Linked DNA regions of Homo sapiens: region 2 is linked to region 1. Evidence: promoter capture Hi-C in 16 types of primary human blood cells and fetal thymus (Javierre and others, 2016). All regions are on one chromosome and are shown on one strand. Each heading gives the region's core, a stretch centred on a gene start or on the middle of the fragment in contact. The rest is flanking DNA. Distances are from core to core; before and after follow the strand shown.

Region 1 (5,003 bases), core at 912-3,411:
CAAACCGTCCTCTATGAAATTAAACAACAGCACAGCATTTCAGACGGTCTCTGATGTTTGCAGAAGAAAGTGTTTCTTTTTCTACTAAGACTGCATGCAGCCTGGTTTCTGCTGCCTAAAGCAAAACACCTTCTTGAAAACATCCTTTGCACAGAAATAAAATGTTGGGACTGGGGATCTTAGCTCCTGGGATGCATTTATCAAACCAATCACAGTAATTATAATTAAAACAAACTAAGTGAGAGCTGAGCATGAAACACATTAGCAGGAAACCTGAACTGCATACAATTAAGCCCTGCTTGGTGGCATTTTGAGGTATGTCATTAATACATTTTTGGGGTGGAGAAGATTGATTTTTTTTCCTTAAACATCTTGGTCTAGTTGCATGAAAGGCTTCAACAACAGTTACAAAGGAGGAATAAGGATAGACACCATTAACTGCTAAGATTAGAGCTTTAAGACAGATGGCCAAAGGTAGCCTAATTGGCTATTTTTTAAAAAATCTTCCTCAGACACACTGTTAAATATGTTTATTGGGCATTAATTTAACCTATGTCTGTTTTAGGGAAGTAAAGAATTGAAGATCTTTAGGGAAAACACAGCTTCCATTCCTAGCCTCAATGCATTAAGTCAGCAGTGTTGAAAACCTTTCCACTCTTCCCCATTGTCTAGAGGAGAAAGTCCGTTTTCCTTACAGGTTCTTCATTCAGGTGTCGCCTCTTCAGTAAAGTCCTTACCATATTCTCCTCTCCTAAACCTGGGCTCCCTCGCCATTACAACAGGTATCACACTGGTTTTTAACTCTATTTATTTGATCTTTCTCCCCTGGGTCTCCAGCACCCAGCACATGACCCAGCACAGAGCAGATGCTTCAAAAACGTTGAATGAAAAGCGACCAAATAAATAAATAAATAAATAAATAAATAAATAAATAAATAAATGAATGATCTATCCTTCTGGGTCCACCACAAACCAAATCCTCCAGGTAATCCTCCATCTTGCCCTACCCTGGATAGATGTCAGCTGGCTCTGCAATGGAAATTCTGGAAGACTTTTACGAAAAATACATAGAAGAGTAGCTTAGGAGAGGCAGCTCAGGTTGGAAGGGATGTGTGTGAGGTAGGGTGTGTGTGTGTATGTGTGTGTGTGTGTGTGTAGCACTATGAAGCTCCCCATTAGAATAAAAGCACAGGATTTTACTTAAATCTTATTTGGGGGATTGGGTGGGTGACGACCGACTCCAGGGCACACCTGGGTGTATCTTCCCATTTTGCCTAGGGATGGGAGAGCATAGAAGAGATTTTTCTCCAAGCCACTTCAAATATGTATATTTTTAATTTCTATTTTGAGATTGTAGATCCAAATGCAGTTCTAAGAAATAATACATAGACATGCCATGTACCCTTCACCCAGTTTCCCCCGATGTTGACACGATGGCAACCAGGACATTGACATTGATAAAATCCACCCACCTTACTCAGATTTCACCAGTTTTATATGCGCTCATTTGTACGTGTGTGCGCGAGCGTGGGGTGTACACTTTATATAATATTTCTGAAAGTGGCTTTTCCCTTGCAATGGAGACTGGGAAGGGGTCCAGCCTGATCCATCCCTGCCACGGAGTTGACTCCGGCAGACAGCAGTCTATGCTTGTATTCGTCTCTCGCACACAGTAGGTGGCCAACGACCGTCCACATAAACCCTGGAATTTGTCATGTCAGGGCGCGTGCAGGAGGGGAGCGCCACATTGTAAGGAAGAAAACCGAGACTGAAGTGCCCAGTATTTTGGAAGCAAAAATCAAACAAACAAAAAACTTGACGATTTCCCCCCGAATTGTGAATTAGCTAGCCGGCTAATTACTCCAAAGCGATCCTGGTGTCGGCACTCGCTGCGACCGCCGAAGAGCGCTGTTTCTGAGCCCCGCTCCCGGCTCTGCCGGCGGGGTAGGGGACGCGGGGGCTCCTCCCACCCCTACCGCCGCGTTCACCCCTTTCTTCCCTGGGGCTGGACTGTTTCACCCCGTCTCCAGGCAACGGCCAGGCGCACCGGGCGGGACGTCATTTCCTGAGGAGCCCGTGGGGAGGGGGCGGGCAGGAGGAGGGACGAGGGGGCGGGGCCCGGGCCGGGCTGGCAACGAGACGGCGTCGGAACTCGCTGGAAGACTCGGCCCGGGTGGCTCAACAGTTCGCAAAGTCCGGGCTTGCGGCCGGGCGGCGCAGAGGCGCGGAGGCTCCCCGGGCGGCTGCATCCCGGGGCTGCCCCGGACATGCCCCGCACCCCTTGTCGGACGCCCGCGCCGCTTCACCGGCTGCCACTCCCCGGAGTGCTCTGGGACTAGAGCGCCCTCCGCCCCAACTTCTGACTTTGGGGTCCCCCAGCCCTAGAGGAACGGGCGCCCGGCTGGGGGAGCCCCGGGCATGGTGTGACGGGGCAGTCAGGTCAGCTTTGCGGCGCCCCCAAACTCCAGCCACCCGTCGTCTCCGTGCCCTCCAGAATGTAGCTGCTGACCCCGCGCCCCCCGGACTCCAGCAGCAGTCTCCGCCACCTCCGGGCTCCAGCAGCCAACTCTTGTGTCTCTCAGGAACCCGCCGACGTCTCCGCGTCCCCCGGATTCCAGGTTCGCGACCCCCGCCGTCTTCGCGCCTCCGGGACTCTAGCAGCGGTCTCCGCGACCCCCTAGGATCCAGCCACTGTACCCGTGCTCCCCAAACCCAGGCTCCAGCCGTCGTCTCCGCGCTCCCGGGGATCCAGCTGTCGCGCCAGTACCCGCGAGGACAGCGGCACCGCCCACACCCCGCGCGCTCAGAGCCCGGCCGGGCCTCGGCGTGGAGATGAACGCGCCGCTGGACGGCCTGTCGGTGAGCTCGTCCTCCACCGGCTCGCTGGGCTCGGCGGCCGGGGCGGGCGGCGGCGGGGGCGCGGGGCTGCGGTTACTGTCTGCCAACGTGCGCCAGCTGCACCAAGCGCTGACCGCGCTGCTGAGCGAGGCGGAGCGGGAGCAGTTCACCCACTGCCTGAACGCTTACCACGCGCGCCGCAACGTCTTCGACCTGGTGCGCACCCTGCGCGTGCTGCTGGACAGTCCGGTCAAGCGGCGCCTGCTGCCCATGCTTCGTCTGGTCATCCCGCGCTCCGACCAGCTGCTCTTCGACCAATACACGGCCGAGGGCCTCTACCTGCCCGCCACCACCCCCTACAGGCAGCCCGCCTGGGGCGGCCCCGACAGCGCGGGGCCAGGGGAGGTGCGCCTGGTGAGTTTGCGGCGTGCCAAGGCCCACGAGGGCTTGGGCTTCAGCATCCGTGGGGGCTCGGAGCACGGCGTGGGCATCTACGTGTCTCTGGTGGAACCAGGCTCTCTAGCTGAGAAGGAAGGACTGCGGGTCGGGGACCAGATTCTGCGCGTCAACGACAAATCCCTGGCCCGGGTGACCCACGCGGAGGCCGTCAAGGTAAGGCTGTGGTTTGGAGAGAGTCTGGGGCAGAGTATGGACAGAGTGGCACAGCTTTTTCAGTAACTCCATGCTGTGTGTCCTTAGATGAATCACTTGGCCTTTCTGGGCTTTTTTTTTTTTTTTAATACTTTAAAACAGGAATGTATAGCTTACAGAGCAAATAGCTCTCAGGCACTGGGAACGTAGTTCTGCACAGACATGGCCCTTGCCTTTGTGAGGCTTAAAAGCTAGTGCAGGTGATAGTAACAAATACTTGAGCAAATGTGTGGTTACAATGTGTGAATAGGGCTGTGGATTCTTATGAGCATTAAAAGAGATAAAATCTCTGCTTGGCATAATTAGGTGGCCTTTGCTACTGCCATTCTGTGGTTTTTTGTTTTTTGTTTTTCCCTGAAACAGTTTTGTTAGCTCTTAAGTGGCCTGAGGAGGCCGTTTGTGTGATCCACAGTGCACTGGCTTGACGCTGCTGTTTTTGGACCAGGTTGTGTATCCTGAAGCAAGTCACTTGCCCTCTCAGGACCTCTTGTTCTCCACTTGGAAAATGGGGCCACTGGACCAAATAAGCGGTCCCTAACCTTTTTGGAAATGAGACTCCTGCCTGAATGTAAAAAATAAATTCCCTAGCCCCTGAGAGTGTTTGTCCTTTCTGCCATTTGTTAATTGAGAAATATAACCTCATGACAACAGGCTTCCAGGGATTTAATCATGCTTTTTAAAGGAGTGTGTGTGCTTACTGATCTACAGCCCAGGGCTACTGAAAACCAGTTGGAGTATGATGGATAGTGTTGGGTCCAGGGTGGATTCATGGATCCTTTGCAGGCATTTTTCCCCCTTCCCCCCTCCCCCGACCTCCTTTGCGTACAAGAAGTGAAGAGTTTGGGGGAAAAGGGACACATGCTCTGCTTCTGCAGAGAAATGCTTCTCAGGGGGTTGGACTGTTCTGTAAACCCCCACTCCCCGCCAGCGCAGGTGTTTTGAACTCCAGCTGAGGGCCTGCTGGCTGCTGGGAAACTCCTAGGCAGCAGAGGCCCACGACTACTTCCTCCTGAGTGCCGTTCAGTGGCCTGTGTCCAGGTGAGTCTTGAGCCGTCTCCCTGGCTGTGCACCTGATGTTGGCTTCCCTCATTTGCTTCCCAGCCCATCAACCCCTTTGGAGGAAGCCCTTGAGGCTTTCAGAAACTTCTTTGTAGCTTCTGGAAAAAGGCCGATCGGTTTATACTGCATCAGGGTGCAGTGGGCAAAGCTCGTTGTGAGTTTCCATGCAACAATTCCTCTTCCCCCTCTATCAATCTTTTCCCTTTGTTTAGCATTCCATATATTTATAAAGAAGTAGTCCATTAGCCTTGGCCTTAAATGGTCTGGAGTTCCCAGATGATAAATTTATGCACTAAAGATACTTGAGGCAAATGATCATTTGTAAATGTGGATTCAGTTTTAGTGGCAATTTAAAAAGACTTGGGTAACTTAACGGTCACAAGGTGATAAGGTGATATGCTTTGGAAAGGCTGTCAGTTACCTTGGGCATTCAAAACGCAGACTGTCCCTTCAAT
Region 2 (5,003 bases), core at 1,548-4,047, 510 kb before region 1:
AGTGAATGCCAAACAATTAGAAGCAAATAAAGTGTCTCTATTTTTTTCCCATCTCACTAGCCATTAACTTCCCCACAGTGGGGCAAGGGGCCATGTGGGGTTTCATGGATTGACTCTACCATCTGCAGACTTCGCTGAAGAGTCAAAGTTGAAACCTGGAAGCCAAGACACAGATACAGTTTTTTCTTGTAGAAAGCTTTGGCCAAAATTTCAAGGATATTTCCCCCTACTTGAGACTAGGGAAGTAATATTTACCAAGCACCTACGACGTGCCCAGCTCTGTGATAGCTCCTTTACAAACTCATTTAATCTTCATCTCATCTTTCAAGGCTAACATTATCAGATCTTAAGAAAGAAAAAAAAATAGTAAAACCGAGGCTCAGAAGATATTGAGAACTTAAGACTATTTATCTCTCAAGTAAGAACACTGATATTTAACCCTATATGTCAAATTGTAAAACTGTGTTTTGTTGAGCTGTTCGTTCTGCTATTCCATACCAAACCCCTATCAAAATACTCCATAGGAATCTCGTGAATTACAGACACACACACACACACCATGTATGTAGCTATTCAATTCTAGAACTTCTAATAATGACCTGAACTCCTTCAGAACCTATTCCTAAGGACGGCAGATTTCATCAGCCACCATTTTGCCTCAAGAGGAAAGACCAAAGCTCCATGCAAACTCAGGCGACTCTTGACTCAGGTGAAAAACTGGGTCAGATTCAGCCAGTTCCTTTGAAAGTTTCCACAACCCAGACCAACAGAGAGATAGGCAAGAGGCAGCTGTGATATACCAAATGGTCAAATTGAAACAGAACTCATTTAGTTTGAATGACTAAATAGCAATGATCAGTGAACACCTCGCCTAACAGTAACCAACCTGGAGGCCTTCTCTCTCTCTCTCTCTCTCTCTTTTTTTTTTTTAACAGGGCGTTAACTGGTTCCACTGGAAGGGCCACGAACACTCAATCCAGTTTGCTGAGATGAAGCTGAGACCAAGCAACTTCAGAAATCTTGAAGGCAGGCGCAAACGGGCATAAATTCCAGGGACCACTGGGTGAGAGAGGAATAAGGCCCAGAGCGAGGAAAGGATTTTACCAAAGCATCAATACAACCAGCCCAACCATCGGTCCACACCTGGGCATTTGGTGAGAGTCAAAGCTGACCATGGATCCCTGGGGCCAACGGCAACAGCATGGGCCTCACCTCCTCTGTGATTTCTTTCTTTGCACCAAAGACATCAGTCTCCAACATGTTTCTGTTTTGTTGTTTGATTCAGCAAAAATCTCCCAGTGACAACATCGCAATAGTTTTTTACTTCTCTTAGGTGGCTCTGGGAATGGGAGAGGGGTAGGATGTACAGGGGTAGTTTGTTTTAGAACCAGCCGTATTTTACATGAAGCTGTATAATTAATTGTCATTATTTTTGTTAGCAAAGATTAAATGTGTCATTGGAAGCCATCCCTTTTTTTACATTTCATACAACAGAAACCAGAAAAGCAATACTGTTTCCATTTTAAGGATATGATTAATATTATTAATATAATAATGATGATGATGATGATGAAAACTAAGGATTTTTCAAGAGATCTTTCTTTCCAAAACATTTCTGGACAGTACCTGATTGTATTTTTTTTTTAAATAAAAGCACAAGTACTTTTGAGTTTGTTATTTTGCTTTGAATTGTTGAGTCTGAATTTCACCAAAGCCAATCATTTGAACAAAGCGGGGAATGTTGGGATAGGAAAGGTAAGTAGGGATAGTGGTCAAGTGGGAGGGGTGGAAAGGAGACTAAAGACTGGGAGAGAGGGAAGCACTTTTTTTAAATAAAGTTGAACACACTTGGGAAAAGCTTACAGGCCAGGCCTGTAATCCCAACACTTTGGGAGGCCAAGGTGGGAGGATAGCTTAACCCCAGGAGTTTGAGACCAGCCTGAGCAACATAGTGAGAACTTGTCTCTACAGAAAAAAAAAAAAAAAAAAATTTAATTAGGCAAGCGTGGTAGTGCGCACCTGTCGTCCCAGCTACTCAGGAGGCTGAGGTAGGAAAATCACTGGAGCCCAGGAGTTAGAGGTTACAGTGAGCTATGATCACACTACTGCACTCCAGCCTGGGCAACAGAGGGAGACCCTGTCTCTAAATAAAAAAAGAAAAGAAAAAAAAAGCTTACAACTTGAGATTCAGCATCTTGCTCAGTATTTCCAAGACTAATAGATTATGGTTTAAAAGATGCTTTTATACTCATTTTCTAATGCAACTCCTAGAAACTCTATGATATAGTTGAGGTAAGTATTGTTACCACACATGGGCTAAGATCCCCAGAGGCAGACTGCCTGAGTTCAATTCTTGGCTCCACCATTCCCAAGTTCCCTAACCTCTCTATGCCTCAGTTTCCTCTTCTGTAAAGTAGGGACACTCATACTTCTCATTTCAGAACATTTTTGTGAAGAATAAATTATGTTATCCATTTGAGGCCCTTAGAATGGTACCCGGTGTATATTAAGTGCTAGTACATGTTAGCTATCATCATTATCACTTTATATGAGATGGACTGGGGTTCATAGAAACCCAATGACTTGATTGTGGCTACTACTCAATAAATAATAGAATTTGGATTTAAACCCAGGTCTTCTGGCTCCAATGTTCCTGCTCTTTCCCGGTCCCTTAATGAAAATCTCTCCTTCTTTGGGGAAATGTGTGCTGTGGCAAGAGAGTGAAGGTTGCAGAATGGGATATGGGGGCAGTTCAACTGGATGCTTCCTCAGGCTTCTACAATCCTGAACTCTGAAAACTAGGAAGAATGTCTATTAGGAATATCGCCTTCTCCTCTACACTGCAGTCCCCAAAAAGGGAGCAAGCCCATATTCCTCCAGCCTCAGACTGAACACATCTAGTGATGGGGAACCCATTGCCTGGATGGCAGGTCTGTTAGTCCTCAGCAAATATAGTGAGTCAGAACTGCTCAACGCATAACATTTCTCTTTTTAAACAAGGGTATATGGGGGGAGAGTAATTCCCAGTTCATTCTCTTAGGGATTTTCAGAAAATTGACTTATTTAATAAAATAAGTCAAGTTTGGGCTGATAGGCCTCATTCAAATGGAATGTGATGGCTCTGGAGCAAGGATCAGAGGAATTTATGGTTCCAGCCATATCCTTTGTTGCTGAGTTTATCTTGCTTTAATAAATGCTGTCATGTTAGATACACAATGTGCTGTTCCAGATCATAAGAACGGTTGCATGCAATTCAGCCATAGCAACGCTCTCCTGGCTATATAAATCCAAACAAACGGGCTCCCTGTAGCAACCAGGCCTCGAGTTGGAGGCTTACCTCTCCACTGGCTGCTGACTTGTGAGTCTCTAAACCCAAGTCCTATCTCCTCTCCAGAACTGTAGATGTACTTAATTAAGCTTGAAGGTATTCCCCACAAGCCACACAAGAATCAAATTTGGATTGGTGAAGAAGCCACATCAAACAGGAGTCAGTAATAACCCAAATGGGGACAGGGCAGGCAACCGGGTCTGAGGCCATGGCATTCAAAGACCACAGTCTCTAGTGTGAGCTAATCATTTCTCAAACGTGTCCTTCAGCCTCTGGCTCTGTGGCTTGTTTCAGGAAACCTCTTCCATCTTGAAAGTTCTCTTAAAATTCCACTTCACCCTCAAGACCTGGGCCCTACCCCTGCCCCCATGAAACAGTCAAAATATCTCTATTGGGAAGTAATTTCCAGGGTGTTCGACCTTCCCTTTGTTCCTTCTCTCATCTGCTCCCCTTCTCCCTGCTCTGTGTACTTCAAGGCCACCCTATTTTCATTGCATCAATGACTCCCAGCTTCCAGGTGGATGTCAAAATGGGAAAAGCCAGCAGGACATTGAAGGGAAGAGACTATGAGTGGGGGTGGGTCAGGGCACTTGTTGCCCAGCTCCATCTATACAGCATCACAGTGGGCTGTCAGCATCCACATAAGAGAGCCGTAGCCACTGTCAACTGACTGTCTCCATGCAACTCTCTCTTCAGGTTTAGAAAAGTGCTCTCTCACTTGCCCCTTCTAGCCTAGGAGCAGTCATGGCACCCTAGCTGCTGCTAGACTTGGGGACCTGTGCTAGGCTCTGTGGCTCTCCTCCACCCCCTCTCCTTTAACTCTCCTCAGGGACCCCGGCAGGCTCGCCCACCCCTGGGAGCACTGAGTGCCACTGTTACAGCTGCCTGCTGGCCTTATCCATTATGATTTCTACTTCCTGCCCCTCTTCCTATAGTGATTATTGGTCATTTAATGGCTTCCCAGCATCCAAAGTCCTTTCCAGTTTTAGGAAATTTGAGAACCTTGCCTCCTACCAAGGAAGCCACAGAGGAAAATACTCTTTCCTCCTCCCCTTGATAGCCAGGGCATGGGCACGTAACTTGGGCTTTGCCAATTAGATGCCCACAGAGGGACTTCTAACCTTTAGCAATGAATGCAAAACATAGAGTGTAGGAGACTGGCTCCCCCACAGAATCTAGCACTGAGGCCATCTATCCGTGGGATCTGTGGCCCAGCACCACGCAGGGTATAGCCATATCTCTCTCTAATGGTGACAGTTGTTTCCAGCAGTGACAAAGGCAGACTGGCTGATGATTCCTGCTACCTGGCCTCCTTTGGTTCCTGATAATTTTCTGTGCCTGCTTCTTCAAACTTTCTGTCAGTTTTATGAGCTTCCTGATATCCTTCCAGAAAATTCCTTTTCTGCTTAGGTAGTCCTAGATTATTTCAGGTCCTTGAAGCCAGATACCTTGGCTAATACTTTCCTCCCTAAACCATGAGCCTGTGACATTTATTGACCCTCTTGTAGTCCCAGCACTGTGTTTGACACTTTAAATATCCAAAGTATCCTAAGCATCATAGTCACCTGTGAGACAAATCGAACTATTCCATGTCATGTAGAAAACTAGGCCTCAGAGGGGTCAGGTGGCTTCTCGCAGCCATGCCACTGGGGTCAGACCAAGATTCACAGCCAGG

Evidence for each region. The method cuts DNA at HindIII sites, captures the fragments that hold promoters and counts their contacts. A CHiCAGO score of 5 or more calls a contact.
Region 2: a fragment that was not itself captured here is called in contact with the fragment with the promoter of WHRN in region 1 in 11 of 17 cell types (activated CD4 T cells, naive CD4 T cells, total CD4 T cells and 8 more); the score reaches 10.6 in activated CD4 T cells.

The regions. Positions count from the first base shown.
Region 1 is chr9:114,502,631-114,507,633 of GRCh38, reverse strand. WHRN (whirlin) reads left to right here and starts at 2,161. Exons shown (of 12, transcript NM_015404.4): 1 at 2,161-3,450. The coding sequence starts at 2,833. RefSeq lists a silencer at 2,067-2,366 and enhancers at 1,891-2,781, 2,782-3,672. The HindIII fragment of the contact is 12,008 bases long and covers 1-5,003 here.
Region 2 is chr9:115,017,200-115,022,202 of GRCh38, reverse strand. TNC (tenascin C) reads left to right here. Exons shown (of 28, transcript NM_002160.4): 28 at 936-2,628. The coding sequence ends at 1,046. Among named protein-coding and RNA genes, the nearest start is that of TNFSF8, 89 kb to the right of the region's middle. The HindIII fragment of the contact is 1,245 bases long and covers 2,175-3,419 here.